Regions from separate parts of the Homo sapiens genome. Here region 2 is linked to region 1. The links are contacts of gene promoters, found by promoter capture Hi-C in human tissues and cell types (Jung and others, 2019). All regions are on one chromosome and are shown on one strand. The core of a region is centred on a gene start or on the middle of the fragment in contact, and the rest is flanking DNA. Distances in the headings are between cores, read along the strand shown.

Region 1 (7,289 bases), core at 4,479-6,978:
ACACTTTGGGAAACTAAGGCAGGAGGATCACTTGAGCCCAGGAGTTTGAGACCATCCTGGGCAACACAGTGAGACCCTGTCTCTACAAAACATTTTTTAAAAAATTTAGCCAACTGTGCCGGGCACAGTGGCTCACACCTGTAATCCCAGCACTTTGGGAGGCCGAGGTGGGCAAACCACGAGGTCAGGAGATCGAGACCATCCTGGCTAACATGGTGAAACCCCGTCTCTACTAAAATAGCAAAAAATTAGCCGGGCATGGTGGCGGGCGCCTGTAGTCCCAGCTACTCGGGAGGCTGAGGTGGGAGAATCACTTGAGCTTGGGAGGTTGAGGCTGCAGTGAGCTGTGATTGTGCCACTGCACTCCAGCCTGGACAACAAAGCAAAGACCCTGTCTTAATTTAAAAAAAAAAGATGTGGGAAGAAAGAGAAATTGGTAGGTCAGGTAAGGCTTACAGGGATTCTTTCTGAATAATAAAAATATTCTAAAATTGACCATGGTGAGGTTTGCAAAGCTCTGTGAATACACTAAAAGGAATCAAACCATACAGTTTAAATGGGGGAACTGCATGGCATATAAATTATACCTCAATAAGTTTTTATTTTTTTTTTTAAATCCAGATTAGTGATCTGTAAATGTCACTTAATAAGTTACTATATGATGTCTGCCAGCAAGGAATGTGCAATTTCATGGAGATATGAAGTATACAAACTGAAATATACACAATTACATAGCAATGTACTTTGAAGCAAACAGAACACAAAACCATTTCCTGGAAAGAAACAATGTACGCTAATCAAAGTTTCTTGGTGTAGGTCCAAAACACTGCTGAAACACAGAAAGGAGAAGAAAAATTATTCCACTTTTAGGGAGTAGCTTAAGGCATCAAATATGAGAAGGAAGTTTCAAGCCAGCCTATTTTGGATGCAGGCATCTGCGGATACAATTACAGCTTGCAACTAAGGGCTCAGAAATGTCTCAGAATCTTTTTTGGTTTTGGTGGGCAAATTAAATAAATTGGCAACCACAATTGTTTTAATATAGTAATAAGTAAAAGAAGATAATGTGTTTCTGCCACGTAATGAGGGCAATTCTCGCCGCCGTTACTGAGCTGTGCTCACAGTACTACTTACTGAAGACTGTGACATTTCCCAGTCGCTGGAAGGATCTTTGAAGCCACTTTCGTCCTTCAAGTATTTTTCAAATAATCTTTTATTGATGGGCTCTTCCATGTCAAGAACATCAAGGGCCTGCTGGTGCTCTTTTGCAGCATACTACGTGGAAAACAGAAGTGCCGCTCATCACTCACGACTTCTAACACGAAACACATGATCCGAATTTTTAAAGGATAACATATACTATGCCCATTATTTAAATGTGAAATGTCTAAAGTAGAATTTTCTTCATGCATGTCAGCATGTGGTAAACGAAGAATCAGTATTTTATAGCAAACATGACTAAGGAAAGGAACACTTCCTCATGAAATACTTTACTAACCTGCTAAGCTCCATCACTAAAATTCTCACACATATTTAAGAGATGCATAACACTCATTTTATTCAACCAAATAAAAATGAAATTATGAGCATACTTACATGGCACCTAGCTGCAAGGTAACGACATGCTTCATACAACTAGGAAAGAAATTAATTTGTTTAAGTAGTGGTCAAAATAATATGTATCTTCACTTTCAAAGAAAGCCATAAGCATAAAATAGAACTAATTTCATAATTTCTCCTTTTACTCTTGCAGTTAAAAAAAAAATCCAGTCCTGTTAAACCATATTTATTATGAACCTACTGTTTACTAGGCACCAAGGATTCAAAAGCAGTAAGGCCCTGCCCCAGGAGGTTACAGTAGGGGAGATGTGAACTAAGCACAACAGGTAAGCATGACGAAACGGGGCAACAGAAAGCATCAACCAGGTGGAGAAGTAAACATCTGCAGGAGAGCGAGTAAGTGAGGCAGCGAGTAAGTGGTCAGGCAGAGGAGTGGAGCACTGGGTAGCTCTTCAAGCACTGAGTGTGAATAACTGCTGGGGGTCCAAGGAGATCGCAGCAGCTCCACTTCAGGCACTGAGTGTGAATAACTGCTGGGCGTCCGAGGAGATCGCAGCAGCTCCACTTCAGGCCCTGAGTGTGAATAACTGCTGGGCGTCCGAGGAGCTCGCAGCAGCTCCACTTCAGGCCCTGAGTGTGAATAACTGCTGGGCGTCCGAGGAGCTCGCAGCAGCTCCACTTCAGGCACTGAGTGTGAATAACTGCTGGGCATCCGAGGAGATCGCAGCAGCTCCACTTCAGGCCCTGAGTGTGAATAACTGCTGGGCGTCCGAGGAGCTCACAGCAGCTCCACTTCAGGCACTGAGTGTGAATAACTGCTGGGCGTCCGAGGAGATCGCAGCAGCTCCACTTCAGGCCCTCAGTGTGAATAACTGCTGGGCGTCCGAGGAGCTCACAGCAGCTCCACTTCAGGCACTGAGTGTGAATAACTGCTGGGCGTCCAAGGAGATCGCAGCAGCTCCACTTCAGGCCCTGAGTGTGAATAACTGCTGGGTGTCCAAGGAGCTCACAGCAGCACCACGTGACTGGAGCACGTGCTCCAGGTATTGATGGTGGTGGATTAGACGCAGAGTGGAGAGAAAACAAGGAGGGCCTCACAGACCTACTGATGCATCTGACTTTATCCTGCAGCTAATGGGAAGTCACTGAATGACTTTGTGGGAATATAACCACATCCGTGTTTTAAAGACTACTCACTCCTGTAATAGTTCACAAGATGAACTTGTGACAGGGAAGATAAGAAGAGAGAAACTGTTACTGGGGAAAAGAGACAAGAAGAGAGGCTGTAACAGAACAGACAAAAAAATCAAAGGCCTGACACGTACGAGTGGGGAGGAAGAGGAATATCCATGATTCCAGAGCTGTTTAGAAAACAGTCTTCAGAATTTAGAGACTAGATGGGAGATGGGGGAAAAAGAAGGTGACAGATTAGGTATAAGACATTTTCCCTTCACTTTCACTAAAAAAAAACTGGGCCTACTGTGATGACTCACATCTATAATCCCAGCACTTTGGGAGACCAAGGCGGGAGGACTGCTTGAGACCAGGAGTTCAAGACTAGCCTGGGCAACATAGTGAGGCTCTGTCTCTACCAAAAAAATTTAAAAATTAGCTGGGTGTGGTGGCATGCACCTGTAGTCCCAGCTATTAGGGAGGCTGAGGCAGAAGGATCACTTGAACTCAGGAGTCTGAGGTTATAGTGAGCCACGATCATCCCACTGCACTCCTGGGTGACACAGAGAGACCTCAAAAAAACAAAAACAAAGAAAAATTGCATCAAGTTAAATAATTTCAACAGAAATGGAATATACACCTAAAACCCTAATGACTTTTTTTTTTTTTGAGACAGAGTCTTGCTCTGTTGTCCAGGCTGGAGTGCAATGCACGAACTCAGCTCACTGCAACCTCCACCTCCCAGGTTCAAGTAATTCTCTGCCTCAGCCTCCCGAGTAGCTGGGATTACAGGCGCCTGCCACCACGTCCGGCTAATTTTTGTATTTTTAGCGGAGATGGGGTTTCACCATCTTGGTCTTGAGCTCCTGACCTCATGATCCACCTGCCTTGGCTTTCCAAAGCGCTGGGATTACAGGTGTAAGCCACCGCGCCCGGCCACTAATGACATTTTTTTTAAAGCTCTGAAGAGCTTTAAAGTTCATACCATCACTTACTTTGTCCAGTTTTCGTGACCGAAGTGCATGGGCGGCTCTGTGATATTGTGCTGTCAGGTAAAGACACTGAGCCAACCAATAGATGTCCTGGGGTTCTTCTGGAGGGAAAAATTCACATAAGTGGTCAGAGGTACAAGGTGAAATAGAAAACGAATTTTAAGATTAATCAGAAAACCAGTTAGCATTTTGTCACTTACCACGAGAGAGTGAAGCTACTTTATCTGCCCAAAATAGAGCACTTTGATACTGTTGCTGCATACCAAAAAAAAAAAAAGGTGGTAACTGCCCTGTTATTTTAATAGTCTTAAACAGTTATCTAATATTATTATAATTCTATGTAATATATTAATATAATTCTATGTAATAAATCTTCATCTCAAGACAACAATTTGTTACATCTCTATCTTACATCTCACGTAGGGTAAATTTTAGTTCAGTGTCGCAATACAAACATTCCTGTAATATCTTTGTATATGCAACTTATGAAGGTAATTTTTTAAAACTCATACACTGTAAAAATGTATCGTGAAACATACAAGTGAAATGCAAGTGAAACAGCAAAAGCTAGTCATTAACAATTCATGTGTGATTTATATAACACTTTCAACGAGCTGTTAATGAATCCCAAAGTGAAATTTAGAAGACAGAACACTATACTCAAATACCTTATATAACACAGTGGCAGTTTTAATAACACTCAAGTTTAAAAACACACACACATAAATTAACTAAGCTTCACTGAACATGGGGAAGAACTCACCTCCTCCAAGTCTAACAAAAATGAAGGAGCCGACAATGAGGGCCACCCACAGTGACCTACGGCTAGCTTTAGACCCTGTTCTGCTCCTCAGTCCTCAGTCTTCTACAGTCTCTGCCTCAGTTCCCCTGGAGACAAGCCAGGACCACTGCTGCTAGCCCGAGGCAGGAGGAATGCCAACGGGATAGTTATAAATATGCTCAATACCGGTGTCTCTGGCTGGAAACCGGGCCTGTCATATTCCTCACTACGTCTCCGTACCGAAGAAAAAGTGATCAGAAAACACTGAATTCAACTGACTCATGGTAAATAAAAACACAGCCCTCCAAATGGACTGCAAACATTTGGCCACGTCAGTTAGCACCCAATTCCGAAAACTCTGCATTACCATGGCTTTTCTTTCCCTTTCTTTCCAATTTCCTGAAAGAGCAAGCATTTCAACAAAAAATAAACAACAATATAGATAAAACTGATGCTGCTGATTCTCGAAGACACTTCTTGCCTTAAACGCTCTCTGCTATTCAAAGGTAGTGCAGAGAACACAGACATAGTTAACGAGAATTTTTAAAGTATTGATTTGAGACAACAGGCTTCTTCACATCTTTATTCACTTAAATTCAGCCCAGTAAAAATTACAACTAAACCTCTCAAAAATGTTTTATTAGCTAGCCCTGCAACTTTCCTCCAAAAATTGTCCTTCAACTTGCACTGAGTAGTCAGTGTTTCCTGGGCACCTCCTCCGCGCCAGGTGCAGAACGAGGCTCAGACCCGACTGAGGCGCCCCGTGCGCTCGGGGGCCTCCACTCCCCGGGCTGTGCCCCTCCCAGCTGCAGGGACCGCTCCCTTCTGGGCGAGGCGGAGACAGCGCTGCTGGCCCCAGATGAAGGCCCAGGGCCGGCCCAGTCCTTCCCCACCAAGAGCCCCGACAACAGTCACCCCAGCCCCACGCCGCGCGGAAAAAGACCCGGCGAGGCCTGGGCCCCGCACCCCGAGTCGGGGCCGCCCACCTGGTCGAGGTACTGCCGGACGCGCTTCCGCAGCCGCTCTAGGTTCATGGCGGCGCGGGCCCGGCCTCACGCCACACTCCGCCGCTAGGCGCGCGCCTCCTGCACCCTAAGCACCCCGCCCCGTGCCCGTGCCCGTGCCTGCAGCCGCCGCCGCCGCCCCAGGACTCGAAGGCCGCGGACTCGAAGGCCGCAGGTCCCCACCCACACCCGCACCCCCCACCCAGGCCCCGTGCACTGCCCAGGCTCTTCCGCTCCAGGCAGGCCCCGCCCCGGAAGTCCACAGCAAACGAATCCCATCTGGCGCGGGAAAACGGACCCGAGTTGTTGGTTCCGATGCCTCTCCTGGCACGTGGGCTTCTGGTTGCCTTGGGGCGAGAGCGCGGCCTCCCTGGAATCGCTGCGGCGCCTCTGGGCATTGGCGAGAGAGTCAGGAGGGCTCGGGGCCGGACCACCCACCCGGGCAAAAAAGCAGGTGGCTGCTGAGCCTTCTTTCCCCAGAATGTAGTCAACATTTTAAAAATAAGAGCAACGCACTCTCATTACAAAAAAAAAAAATTGTGTGCACAAACAGCAAATGAAGTCAAAGACAACCTAGGGAAAAATTTGAAACCTATCACAAAATTCGAATTTCCTTATAATGTAGAGCCAATATTCCCTTTACATATATGTAATAAGTCAGTGGGAAGAGACCAATGGCTCAGGAGAAAGACAGGCAAAAAACAGTTCACAGGGAAAGAAATGCAAATAGACTTTAACATACGAAAGAAAGTCCAACTTAATTCATAATAAAAATTAAAATTAGAGTACCACTTTTCATATGTTAACAAAGATCACAAAGGTTGATGACACTGCTAGCAGGAATGTCGGGAAGCAGGCACCCTCAAGTTTTGTGAGTGGTATTGGTATACTCTCTAGGATGAACGAATTGGAATATCTTCCAAATTTAAAGGTGTTCGTGCTGTTAAACCTAATGATTTTTATTTTGGGAAATATACCATGGATTTGCATTTTTGCATGTGTGCAAAATGACCTGTGGTTTCGTTTGTAATAGCAAAAGATTGCAGACAATTTAAACACCCATGAAGTATGGAACTGAGTAAATAGGTCATGATACGCTCACGTAATGGAATACTCGCTGGCTGTTCAAAAGAACAGTCAGCTTTGCATGGACATTGAACGATCTTCAAGATATAGTATGTGGGAAAAAGCAAGTATAGGATCGTGTTTATCGTATGCCTGCATTTGAGTAAAATACGAATTTAATGATAGGTAGAAAAATCCCTAAACTGTCCCAGGAAGGAAAAATGAGAAAACCGGCATAGCGCAAGGCCTCTGGAAGGAGTGCTGGAAGATGAGAGATGGTAGAAGTGGGAGAGGTACTTCCTTGGATATCTTTTTGTGCTTTTGAATTTCAGTCAATGTGCATATATTACCTTTTGTGAAATTAAATCATTCAAACTTAAAATAATTTAAACTTGAAGCTGTTGGAACTTTGAATTACCTGAGCCTTGAGGGGAATGTGGCTACGCGGCCTAGGTCATGCCACACCCAGCTGTAACTTCTGCCTTTTTCCCTGTAAACAATAAAGACCAAATGGCACCGGAGATAAGACCCCCTCAGATCACTACCCCTCCTCATGGAGTTATAACGCAATCTTCCTTCAAATACAGAGATCCCTAACCAATGGAACCGCTGCGGCGTGTGCCCCTGGTCTCATATGAGAACTGTGGTGATCCTGCTGGAGCTTCTGTCTCCGCCTGGTAAGAGAGACCTGAGCTCCACTTGGAAAGGCTGACC
Region 2 (6,462 bases), core at 1,325-3,824, 150 kb after region 1:
CCCCGCGAGGACGAAGGGAGTCGATACTCCAGACTCAGCACTTCCCCGTGATTTCCCCGCGAGGAGGAAGGGAGTCGATACTCCAGACTCACCACTTCCCCGTGATTTCCCCGCGAGGACGAAGGGAGTCGATACTCCAGACTCACCACTTCCCCGTGATTTCCCCGCGAGGACGAAGGGAGTCGATACTCCAGACTCACCACTTCCCCGTGATTTCCCCGCGAGGAGGAAGGGAGTCGATACTCCAGACTCACCACTTCCCCGTGATTTCCCCGCGAGGACGAAGGGAGTCGATACTCCAGACTCACCACTTCCCCGTGATTTCCCCGCGAGGACGAAGGGAGTCGATACTCCAGACTCAGCACTTCCTGTGATTTCACGGCACGCCATTGCTGCTGGGCTCCAGGCTGTCTGGCTGGGTGCTTCTGGAGGTGTGGGTGCCTCTGAACGGGGCCCTGCTCTCCTCTCTCTGGCTTTGGGGCCACACTGGTCGCTTGAAATCGGCCAGGAATGTTCACACCACAGAAATCAGGATGGGCCACACATCGGAGGAAATTGAGCTCACGTTTGAACAAAGGTTTTGTTGATCATCTAATCTTGCTACCCTGAATTAAATAATCTTGTATATAGCGGTTACACTGCAATAGCACAAAAAAATTAAGACAATGTTTTTCTGGCATTTAAAACTTCACCTGATTCAACAAAGTTGCTTGTGACATTGATGAATGAGTGAAGCGCCAGCATTCCCAGTGTGAAAGCCAGAAGAGATGTCAGCTTAATATAATTTGTATGAGTGGGAGAAATGTTTTAATGGTCGACACATATCACACTCAGTGATGACGCACTTTTTGAGAACCAGCTAGCAGAGGGTGCGTTGCCTCTGTTTGTCAAATCCTGGTTAAATGCAGCCCAGGATTGGCTTAGAGACAAGAGTTTGCTGTGAGAATCAATTAGCTCTGTGAGTTTGAAGTAGAGGACTGTGTATCTCATTATTTTTTGTGAGTTGTGTGCTACACATCTTTTACACTAGTGCAATGTATGACTTAACCTAGTTGAGCTCGTGCATGCATTTTTCCCCTAGAGAACCAGGTTGTTAAACCTCTGTTGGGACCACCCACCTGGGGGTGCAGCCCCAGGCCTGTCCCTTCCCCTCTTGCGTACAGGCTGGGTGTGAACTAAACGTTGCTTGGGTTAAGGAAAGTTGTTTTCCCTGCCCCCCATTCCTTCTCTGGGGCTGCCCCCAGACGGGACGCAGCTGGGAGACGTTCTTCATGGTTTTATCTCAGTGCGGCGCATCAAGGGAGAAAGACCCAGTTCCCTTTGTTCCTCACTCTCCATTCAAGCGCGTGTGTCCACCCGGGGAGCAGCCTCGGAGCCTCGGAGCACAGGGAGGTTTGCCCACTGTCCGTGATCAGGAAGAAAGCATCTCTCTCCGAGGCAGATGTCAGCATTGTTGCCACTGCCCGTTATAAGAGACTAGGGTTCCCCAGGCTCAGGCCCTGCTCCCAAGGTGCAGCCGATATGTGTGCAGGCATCACTGGGTTCCCAATCCCAATTTGGTACTGCGTGAGGCAAACCAGGGCACCTGCAGACGCTGCAGCTCTGGCTCTGCTGTTGCGGTGATGTCCTTTGTCTCAGACGTGGACGTCTCTGGCCTCCTGCCTGCCCCTGTGAGACCCGCAGCTCCCCGGTGAGTGGGGCGAGGAGGTAGGGGCATCTTCACACCTTCTCAGTTCTCAGCAGTAAGTAATGCCTCTCAGTCCTGGCTGCACCCAGAACCACCTGCAGGCTTTCTAATCAAGACGAATGTCTGTTCTTACTGCCTGGAGCCCGTCCTAGTCAAAGAATGGCAATCTCTGGGTGGGGTCCAGGCATTTGTCCTGTGAGAAGCTCTCCTGTGTGTGCAGCTGCAGCCGGTGAGTGCAGGTGTGAGGTCCTGTGTGTGGACTCAGGAGAGGAGTCACAGCCCCAGGAGATGCAGCCTGGATGCGGGGCAGGCTCTGCTGCGCTAGGAACACGGGGGCCCTGGGGGTTCCTGTGCAGCACCGGTGTGTCTCTGCTCCTTTGTGAACTCAGAAGGGCGGCTTCATTTCAGCCCACCTTTGCCTTCTCTTTCCTCGTTATTCCCTGGGTGTTTTCAGCCGCCAGTGAAACTTCGGTTTTGAACCCATAGGATTTGCCTCAGTCTCCTGGTGGACACGTCTCTGTGGAGGAGAGGTCCCCTGTCTGCAATCGCCTTCTTTCCCATATTTTATTACCTGTTTATAAGAGTGAGCACAGTTAGAACCAGCTGACAGGGTTTGGAGTCGTGTTTCTCAGGATATTCCAGAGGCATTCCTGCTCCATTCATCTCAGGACTTGAAGTATTTTCCCCAGCGGCTCATTGTAGACCAGCTGGATTCACAGGCAGTCAGAACCACGAGAGTGCATGTGCTGGTGGCCGTGGTCTGCGGACAGCATTTCCAGAGTGCTGGGTGATGCGGCCCCCGCGCCTTGAGAGTTATACTGCATCGGGAGACTGGGCAGCCCTGGGGAGGCCCGGCCTGGACAACCTTCTGGCTGACCTGGCTCCAAGGCCAGGTCTCCTCCTAGACGTTTAGGGATCACTTGGGTCTCGGGACGCGTGAGTCTCTGGAGTGACGTGGCAGCATCTCCTGTGTGGCCCGTTGCTAACAGCCTTTGCACCAAGCACGAGAGGAGGGTCATTTGCACCAGGAGCGTGTAACTGGGGTACTGTTGCGTTTTGGGTGGACGGCCCTCTGCCACGCAGCACTATTGGTGTTCTAGGTGGACGGCCCTCTGCCGTGGGACACTCTTGGTGTTCTAGGTGGACGGCCCTCTGCCGTGGGGCACTCTTGGTGTTCTAGGTGGACGGCCCTCTGCCGAGGGGCACTCTTGGTGTTCTAGGTGGACGGCCCTCTGCCGAGGGGCACTATTGGTGTTCTAGGTGGACGGCCCTCTGCCGAGGGGCACTATTGGTGTTTTGGGTGGACGGCCCTCTGCCACACGGCACTATTGGTGTTCTAGGTGGACGGCCCTGTGCCCTGGGGCACCGTGTGCAGCAGGACACTGAACAGAAGACACCCTGCACTCTGCCCACCAGATGCCATTTGCACAGCCCATAGTGAAATCCAAGCGTGCCCTGGGAGGTGGCCCCTGGGGGAGACCCCTGTTTCAGTGGCCCCTGGGGGAGACCCCTGTTTCAGCCGTTGTCGGGGTCAGGCCTCCAGTAAGCACAGTGGGCGCCTTCTAGGACCCCTCCTGCCACCCCGTCACCATAGACTCATTCTCCCTGTGGTGGAAGTTTCAATTACATTGAATATGCCCGTTATTTGGGAGGGTTTAACATCTGGGCCTGGTCACCCGCCCCTCAGCAGAACCTCCCGTGCCCTCTGAAGAGCCGTGGAGACTGGAGGGAGCTGGAGGTGCTCTCAAGGAGACTGGACGACAGGCAGACCCCCTGGACGGCAGTGCTGGGCCCTCCCTGGGCAGGTGGTGTCACCCAGTGAGTTTTGGAATCAGCCCGCACAGCCCTCTCCTCCTTCCACCGCCCACAGAAGCCCGCTGGTGCCAGGGGCTCCCAGCAGCCCCTCCCGGCCAGGAGGATTGGGGGGTGCCTTGCTTGAGGATGGCAGCCTGGGCTTCTGTCATTCATAACCCACAGGAGTCCTCTTGAGGGAGGAGCATGGTGCCCTGGAGAGCCCTGGACAAGACCTGGGCCTGGCTCCATCCAAGCCCAGCGGCCTCTGCCCCTCCTGAGCGTGAGGATAGAGCAGGTGCCGTCTGCCCTCGACTCGGCCCAGAGGAAACCCCACTCCCACGGCCTCGCCGAGTTCTGCCTATTTCTGGCAGCTTCGCAGGCCCTTCGGGAAGGCACTTGTGTTGCCAGGGGTCGTGGGGGTCAGGGTCATGCTGTGTCCTCAAGACGCTGTGTCCCCTGCCTCGGGGCCCCCCCGCCTCTTCCTCTTATGGCCTCTGCACCGCAGTCAGCCCACCGAGATGTGCAGCCTCGTCCCACGGAGGGTGCCGGGTGGGGAGGCCAGTGCGGACGGGCACTCAGGCCCACTCAGAGGCCAGTCACGGAGCCCCCGTGTCCAGAGGCGAACAGGAGCCAGGGGGCACATGGGCCTTGCAGTCAGCAGCTCAGAGCCCGGAGAGGGGTCTCTACCCACGCATGGCACAGAGGCTTCTGTGCCTCACTGAGACCCTGCCAGGGCCTGGAGGAGGACCTGTTCGAGTGAGGATCCCAGGGGCCAGGGCTGGGATCGCTGTTCCAGGCTTCTAAATAGCCCAAAGTAGACGGGGCTCTTCATCCTTTATTCAGATATTTTAGTCACAAGACTATTGTTCCGGTAAATACTTTATGTTGTTAGAAGACGCTGTGTGCCTAGCAAAATTTTTAGGCCCCTTTGAATGTTTTGCGTTGGGACGACTAAAAGGCTGAGGTTGGGAGCCTTGAGAGCCGCACTTCCTCCAATTCTCCCGCAGGGTCTCCTTCCCCAACAGGCCCTGGGCTTTATTGCTGGGACGGGGTTGCTTTCGCTGGACCATGCACCGGGGCTGTCGCCATCACCTGTTCCACGTTATTTCAGTGAGGCCGACCTGTAGTTGAGTAAAACGCCGTGATGACGTGGGAAAGAGAAGAGCGCCCAGCCTGGGTGGACGCGGCCAGTACCAGCACAGCCCTGGCCTCTCCAGGACGTCTTCTGTCTGGGTTGGTGCCAGGAGCTTTGCTCAGTGGAGCCCTGGGCCCTCGTCCTCACCCGTGGCTGCCTTCATTCCTTCCTCCGCCCTCTTCACTGGGCGCTGAGCTGAGCTGCTGAGCGCCTGGGAGACGCCCGCTGCTGTGTTGAGCAGTACATGAGGCCAGCCCCGCCTGAGGGCCCTCCCCAGGATGCCTGCAGGGAGGAGCAGTGCTGGGTGGGGTCTGTGGAGACCTCCCCATGCCCTCACAGCTCCTCCTGGGTACAGGGGTGTGGCTCCGGGTGCTGCGGGCAGCCCCGACAGCTCGCTGTCAGCACTTGGAGACCCTGTGTGGGCCTCCAGGGAAGCCTGGGCATCCTAACCCTCGGTCAGGGCTGGGCCTGTGCTCACCCTGAGGGTGCAGCTTCCCTCCATGGCCCAGAAGGGCTGCCGTGGGCGTGGGAGTCATGACGCTTTGGATCAGGGCCTTTGTTTTTGTTACTCACTGCCTGATCCCTGGAGTTGGAAATCAGGTTTTGCGGTGTTATGCTGTTTACATTAAATGTGTTTAAGTGCTGCCTTTTACTCCTGTTAGTTGAGTTTTCAGAGCCGATGCGAGGTGCTGTGTTGGCTGTCTTCATCAGTCTGCCGGCTGGTGAACACACCGCATATGTTTTAGAGGCATGGTCTGTGGGAAAAGTGGTCATGAGAACTGTTACTTATTTGGCTGTTAGGATGAAACCAGTTTACTTTTCTTTTAATTCATTTATTCATCCATGCATGCAACAGATAATTAGGTACTTACTGTATACCACAGACAGCTTTGTCTTTTTATATGAACGTCTCTGTGCACCAGAAAAAAAAGAGAAAACGTGTTTCCTCTAAGAGAGACAGAACAGGCACCTTTGGTGAAGGTAACTGAATGAACTGTTTGGGGTGCGGTGGAGAAGAAACAGTTGCTTGGGAGCTGGGGCAGCCCCCGTCCCGCTCAGCTGTGGGGCTGCAGGGAGAGGCTCGGTCCTGGTGCATGTGGCACACACGGCGAGGCCCCGGGGCGACGTGGCCAGGCCGTGCTGCAGCAGCCCCAGCCCTCCTGGTCTGAGCAGCTCATTGGATGTTGGTGCGTCCAGCAGGCTCCCTGGTGTTGCTGTCGTCATAGCAACCAGGATGTTTCTCAGGAGTTTTTTTTTTTTTTTTCTGTTTCAATGCTTTATTAACAGTTGGAAACAAAACCAGTGCCTTGGAGGTGATGGCATCAGAAGCCTGAGGCAGGGAAATGGGCTTGCATTTTGTCCCCCCACTTTTTTTTTTATTAAATGCATCATAGCAAAAGTAGATTAAAAAGAAAGAGTCTCAGCCCCAGATGACAGTGAGCAAGGAGAAGGAGGTAAAGACGGGGCCATCGGGCGGGGAGGGAGGAACCTGGTGTGTTTTGGGGCCAGGGGACTGGGCATCATCGGGCAGGGAGGGAGGAACCCGGTGCCTTGGTGCCAGTGCGGGGGAACTGGGCATCGTTGGGCAGGGAGGGAGGGAGGGATGAATCCGGTGCGTTGGTGCCAGTGTGGGGGGACTGGGCATTGTCGGGCAGGGAGGAAGGATGAATCCGGTGCATTGGTGCCAGTGCGGTGGGACTGGGCATCGTCGGGCAGGGAGGGAGGGATGAATCCGGTGCGTTGGTGCCAGTGTGGGGGGACTGGGCATCATTGAGTGGGGAGGGAGGAAGGGATGAATCCGGTGTGTTGGTGCCAGTGTGGGGGGACTGGGCATCGTCAGGCAGGG

The links. Contacts are between HindIII fragments. The study calls those that stand out against the background at their distance.
Region 2: a contact is called between a fragment that was not itself captured here and the fragment with the promoter of CDC16 in region 1, in 1 of the 25 tissues and cell types used here (lymphoblastoid cells).

Annotation. Positions count from the first base shown.
Region 1 is chr13:114,233,336-114,240,624 of GRCh38, reverse strand. It overlaps CDC16 (cell division cycle 16), which reads right to left and starts at 5,728. Exons shown (of 18, transcript NM_001078645.3): 1 at 5,493-5,728; 2 at 3,926-3,980; 3 at 3,729-3,826; 4 at 1,597-1,635; 5 at 1,135-1,275. The coding sequence starts at 5,540. RefSeq lists a silencer at 5,410-5,769 and an enhancer at 5,880-5,929. The HindIII fragment of the contact is 10,274 bases long and covers 1,724-7,289 here.
Region 2 is chr13:114,077,411-114,083,872 of GRCh38, reverse strand. All of the region lies in intron 1 of RASA3 (RAS p21 protein activator 3), which reads left to right. Among named protein-coding and RNA genes, the nearest start is that of RASA3-IT1, 29 kb to the left of the region's middle. RefSeq lists an enhancer at 1-682. The HindIII fragment of the contact is 8,329 bases long and covers 1-6,462 here.